2 separate regions of the Homo sapiens genome follow, and region 2 is linked to region 1. Evidence: promoter capture Hi-C in 16 types of primary human blood cells and fetal thymus (Javierre and others, 2016). All regions are on one chromosome and are shown on one strand. Each heading gives the region's core, a stretch centred on a gene start or on the middle of the fragment in contact. The rest is flanking DNA. Distances are from core to core; before and after follow the strand shown. Region 1 holds the start of DNER (delta/notch like EGF repeat containing). Region 2 overlaps DAW1 (dynein assembly factor with WD repeats 1).

The links. Contacts are between HindIII fragments. The CHiCAGO score rates a contact against its expected background, and 5 or more counts as called.
Region 2: a fragment that was not itself captured here is called in contact with the fragment with the promoter of DNER in region 1 in 4 of 17 cell types (total CD4 T cells, naive B cells, fetal thymus and 1 more); the score reaches 11.0 in total CD4 T cells.

What each region holds. Positions count from the first base shown.
Region 1 is chr2:229,712,947-229,716,000 of GRCh38, reverse strand. It overlaps DNER (delta/notch like EGF repeat containing), which reads left to right and starts at 1,446. Exons shown (of 13, transcript NM_139072.4): 1 at 1,446-1,853. The coding sequence starts at 1,578. RefSeq lists enhancers at 1-763, 764-1,538 and silencers at 1,376-1,435, 1,506-1,615. The HindIII fragment of the contact is 4,517 bases long and covers 1-2,453 here.
Region 2 is chr2:227,876,133-227,878,832 of GRCh38, reverse strand. The region is part of intron 1 of DAW1 (dynein assembly factor with WD repeats 1); the gene reads right to left. Among named protein-coding and RNA genes, the nearest start is that of DAW1, 5.9 kb to the right of the region's middle. The HindIII fragment of the contact is 4,250 bases long and covers 1-2,700 here.

The DNA.
Region 1 (3,054 bases), core at 197-2,696:
CCACTTGGAGGTCTGAATTCTCCGCTTGCAGATCTGTCTGGGGTTCAGTGATTTCCTGCAATGGCCACATGAATTTTAGGTATCTCCTGAAGCAGAAAAGTGTGACATTTGCTTCTGCGTTTGAACAGGACAGGGAGAAGCCGTGCAGTTTGCCTTCTGTTTCCACTGGAGGACTTTTAGCAATCCCTGGCGTCTGTGACACCTACAGCAGAAGTTCACATGGAGTCCTTACTTTAATTTTTTTAAAAAACAAAACAAGCTATTTTTGTGTTTACTAAAAAAAAAATTGGCCCAGACTGTCAATCCAGGGGAATCACATTTTCTTTTTTCATTTGGCCACCTTAAAAAGAAGGTAACAGGTACCTGGGAACCCACAGGTAATAGAGATTGTGAAAGGTCAGGTGGAGGAGACAAGGCTGGATGCGCTTTATTCAGCGGAGTGCAGCCTCCTTGGCGGTCGCAGCACCAGCCAGCCCAGCCAGGACGTGTAGAAGAGCCCGCCCCCCCCATCCCCTCCGAAGTAGGTCACAGCGAATGCTCCTTTTATGCAGAGTCCCCTGTTGCGATTCCTGCCGCTAGCAGCGCCTCTGCCAACCTGGGCTTTTGAACTGTTCTTTCGGGCGTTCTGGGCTGGGAGTCAATTGACCCACTGGATTCGAATCCAGACTTTCTGGGCCTCAGTTTCCCCCTAGGTTCAACGACAGGGGTGGACAGCCTTACACCAAGGCCTCTTCCCGGCCTCACACGGCGCGGCCAGACGTTCCTTAGTGGTGCGGCAAGGCCCCGCGCTCTGGAAAGGGCCGGCGAGAATGAGACAGCTGGGTCAGCACCAAGGACAAGGGCCCCGGGTCCGCCTGGCGGAGGCGAGGTCACTTCCAGGCGAACCCGGCTGCTGAGCAAGCGTCGGGCGCAGGGTTCCGTGGCCGGGCGGGAGGGCTTGGGGTGCCGGGAGAAGCGCTGTGGGAAGGGGAGCAGTCCCGGGGGATGAGGCAAGGCCGGGCCCCGCGGCGGTCTCGCAGATTCTGCGCCAAGAGGCCAAAGGTGGCTGCTGCGAGCGCGCCGCCCCTCCCTTGAGGCGCCCTGCCGCCTCCCGCGCCCTGCCCTGCCCGGGCCTTGGGGCGCACTCGGTGCTCCCGGCTCTGGAAGCCCCTCAAAGCCCCGCTTCCCTCACTCGTGGACCTCTCCAGCCCCTTTCCTGCCCCAGCGTCGCCTGGCTCCCTGTACCAGGGCTGCTTCTGGACACACCCGTGACTTCGACCCACTCCTGGGGGATGGGGTCCCGCATCGTCTTCCTGCAACCCCCATCCCAACTCCCTGCGGGGAAAGAGGCCCCACTCCCCGATGCTCCAGAGCCGGGGCCGCCAGGCGCCCCGCCCCCCGCTCGCCCCGCCCCGCCCCGCCCCGCAGGCCCCGCCCGCCGTTGCCCGGGGAACCGCGGATCCCGCAGCTGCAGGAGGCGCCCGGCCCGGCGGAGCAGCCCTAGCCGCCACCGTCGCTCTCGCAGCTCTCGTCGCCACTGCCACCGCCGCCGCCGTCACTGCGTCCTGGCTCCGGCTCCCGCGCCCTCCCGGCCGGCCATGCAGCCCCGCCGCGCCCAGGCGCCCGGTGCGCAGCTGCTGCCCGCGCTGGCCCTGCTGCTGCTGCTGCTCGGAGCGGGGCCCCGAGGCAGCTCCCTGGCCAACCCGGTGCCCGCCGCGCCCCTGTCTGCGCCCGGGCCGTGCGCCGCGCAGCCCTGCCGGAATGGGGGTGTGTGCACCTCGCGCCCTGAGCCGGACCCGCAGCACCCGGCCCCCGCCGGCGAGCCTGGCTACAGCTGCACCTGCCCCGCCGGGATCTCCGGCGCCAACTGCCAGGTGAGTGGAAGCGGCGGGCGCGGTGCGGGGCGCTGGTCCGGGACCAGCAGCCTCTTCCCGCCGGCCCTGCTGCTGCTGCCCGACAATGGGCACGCCTGACACAGGCTTTCCCACTTTGGGAAGAAGATGGATCCAGTCTCTTGGCCCGCGTGGACGCGGACCCCCGGGCCGACCCTGATTCCCTTACCCGCCCTGGTTCCCGGGCGGGGCCAGCCGGGCTCTCGGGGTGTGCCGCTCCGGGGCTCGGCACTTCTCGCGCGGGGCTCTAGACGCTCCGGTTGGCCACTGAGTGGCGCGCCCCTCCAGGCCGGGCCGAGCCAAGAACCACTTGAGCGGTGCCCGCCTTGGCAGCGCGGAGGAGCCGGCTCCGAGCGTCCCCGGCGAGGTGTTCAATGTCCAGGTGGTCCACGCTCCACGTCCGGCTGGACCCTGTGTGTGTAAAGGGTGTGCGGTGTGGGAGGCAGGTGATGGTGGGCCCCGTGCCAGGTGGTGGGGCACTTTCTCCTTCTCTTCCTACGCCCTTGAGGGCTGTGACAAAGCAGCCAGAGGACGAGGAGGGCAGCTGCCTCCCCTCGGCCTGCGACCAGCCCTCTCTAAGCTTAGGAGCAGTGTTGGAACAGTCGGAGGCATTCGAGGGGGCATTGTACGTGGCGCTGGCAGGGCCGCCCTTCCTGCCGGACGCTCCACGGGGCGCACGCTTGGGGCTGGCAGCCGGGGCGTGAGCAGGGCACCGGGAAGCCGCCAGAAAGCGTGGGGGCGGTGCGAGGGATGGGACGATGGGATGTAGCCAGCAGCCGCCCGTGAATTTGGGGTTTTCAGGAGAATTTGGCAGAAAATAATATCTGGGGCTTTTACAAGTCCGTTAAAGCTCTGTGAAACCTATTAACATCAACATTTCCAGTAGGCAATTTGGTAGGACTGTGTGTACGGGTAGAAAATCCCCAAACCTGTATTGCAGGGTAGGGCAAATAATGAAGTTATCTGAAATGATTACATTAAACCACATGAATATGGACGATATTTGGGATCAGATACTATCTTCCTTACATTTAGGGTGGAGGAGTTTGTTTCATATAAATTTGATAACAATGATTGGAGAGTTACTTTGAGAATGCTCAAATAGGTTCTTTCAATGGGGAAAAAGGCTGCCCTTTCATTATGACAGGTTTTACATTTTTTAGAGGTAAATGGGATTGAGAAA
Region 2 (2,700 bases), core at 180-2,679, 1.8 Mb after region 1:
CTGGGCAAAAAAAAAAAAAAAAATTAAATTTAAATTTAAAAAGTAAGAGAAAAACAAGAAAATAGAAAAAAATGATAGGGATCGACATATTTTCTTCTTCATTTTGTTAGAGACAGAGTCTTGCTCTGTTACCCAGGCTGCAGTGCAGTTGTACAATCATCACTCACTGTAGTCTCGAACTCCTAGGAACCCATGCCATTCTTCTGCCTCATTTTCTTGAGTAGCTAGGACTATAGGCCCATGCCGCTATGCCCAGCTAATTTTTTAATTTTTTGTAGAAACAAGATTTCACTATGTTTCTCAGGCTGGTCTTCAACTCCTGGGCTCAAGCCATCCTCCTGCCTCAGCCTCTCAAAGTGCTGGGATTAAAGGCAGGCACCACCATGCCCAGTTGATCAACATTATCAGAATATAAACCCTTGAAGATCAAGATCCCTAAAAAGCTATTTGAAAATTCAAGAAAGATACATACTTTAAACATACAAGTTCTGTATCAATGCAAGGTGTCACTATCATCAAGGGAGTGTTTCTTTCTGTACTATAATTTTAGATTTTTTGCATTATATATGAGGGTATTTACTATGTGCTATTTATTATTGAGGAAATAAATGCTTGAGTAAATAAATGATGTACACAATGAATAAGCAATAAAATAATAATCTGTAACTCAGAGAAAGGTTGGAAAGAATTAGCACTTGGCAGTCCACAGAGTATGATCTAATACCCTAAGGAAATGCATTTTTAACATTTTAGCAAATAAGTTAACAAAAGTCTGCTTTCTTTATTCACTACTTGTTTGTAATAAAGTAAAAAGGTTCGAAGTCTTCAAGCTGACTACTAAAAATTGGTGGGGATGCTGTACAAATGGATCTGGAGAATACACTACAAAATTGAAACATGTACGTTTGACTGCTTCGCTGTGACAAAACCTCTAGGCCAGGGGTCCCCCGACCCCACTGGGCCCTGGACCAGTACCAGTCTGTGGCCGTTAGGGCCCAGGCCACACAGCAGGAGGTGAGTGGCGGGCAAGTGAGCATTACTGCCTGAGCTCATTCAGCCTCCTGTCAGATCAGCAGCAGCAGCATTAGATTTCCATAGCAGCAGGAACCCTATGGTGAACTGTGCATACAAGGGATCTAGGCTGCACACTCTTTACGCAAATCTAACTAATGCCTGATGATCACAGGTGGAACAGTTTCATCCCAAAACCATCCCCCTGGTCTGTGGAAAAATTGTCTTCCATGAAACCAGTCCCTGGTGCCAAAAAGGTTGTGTAACATTGATCTAGGCAATATGTTCATCCCTCTCATGATTACTGAGCTCCAATATGAGCAAAAGGCTGTGATATGTGCCATGAAGAATAAAAGCAGAAAACAAAGAGTCCGGGAGCAGTGGCTCACGCCTATAATCCCAGCACTTTTGGAGGCCAAGGCAAGTGCCTCACTTGAGTTCAGAAGTTTGAGACCAGCCTGGCCAACATGGTAAAACCACATATCTACTAAAAATACTAAAATTAGTTGGGTGTGATGGCACATGCCTGTAATCTCAGCTACTCGGGAGACAGAGGCAGAGGTTGCAGTAAGCCAAGATTGTGCCACTGTACTCCAGCCTGGCTGACAGAGCAAAACTATGTCTCAAAAATAAAAATAAATAAACAAAGATGCTGCCAGAAATACATGCTTTTCTTCAGTGACTGTTTCCCACAGTATCTTAATAATCTTGATTTTCCCTTGATTGTGCATTATTCAATAAATATAATTCCCAAAACACTTAGGTAAGAAGCCTCTATTCCTCAAATTTTTCAGTATATTAAAAGGGCATGCTTCAAATGATATTAGTATTCTTTACTTAGATTATATATTCAATCAACAGAAACCTTTAAAATGCTCAGAATGTTAACTAGTTTAGTTAATGTTGACTTAATTCCTTCTCCTGGTCTGAGAACTATGGACTTCACACAATAAATGAAATACAAAAATTGTCATAACTGAGTTAGCTGAAAAGCACATAGTCAACACCCACTCTCCCCAAAGCAAAGAGCTTATGAATTAATAAATGTGACCAAGATGAAAAGGAATGTCCCATGTTTGGTTAGCCATGTCACTGGCATGTACATTTAGCCTTTGGGAATGTAGGTAGGGAGAGGGATAATTCAGTAGATAGCAGCAAGACAATGCCCCTGACCTATACGTTATTCAAAAGAAAGTGGGAGGGCGAAAATTAGAGGATTAGGAGGCAAAACAAAACTGCTCTATATGCAGAAGGGATAAAGGTAGCACGGGAATGATTCAGTGGAATAATTTTTCCTATCTGATAATGCTATTATTGAAACACCCACCTGCTATTCAGTAGTATCTTGGAAACTTGCATATGATTTGGCTCACCAAAGACTGGAATTCAGAAATTAAATGTCAAGCATGCTAAGTAATATGACCTCATTATAAGATAAGCATTAAGGCAATAGTCGCAAACATGAGTCAAGAGAATTACGTGAGCCTAAGAATCCTAGGCTTGGCCGGGCACAGTGGCTCACGCCTGTCATCCCAGCACTTTGGGAGGCCAAGGCGGGTGGATCACGAGGTCAGGAGATCAAGACCATCCTGGCTAACACGGTGAAACCCCGTCTCTACTAAAAATACAAAAAAATTAATTAGCCTGGCGTACTGGCGGGCGCCTGTAGTCCCAGCTACTCAGGAGGCT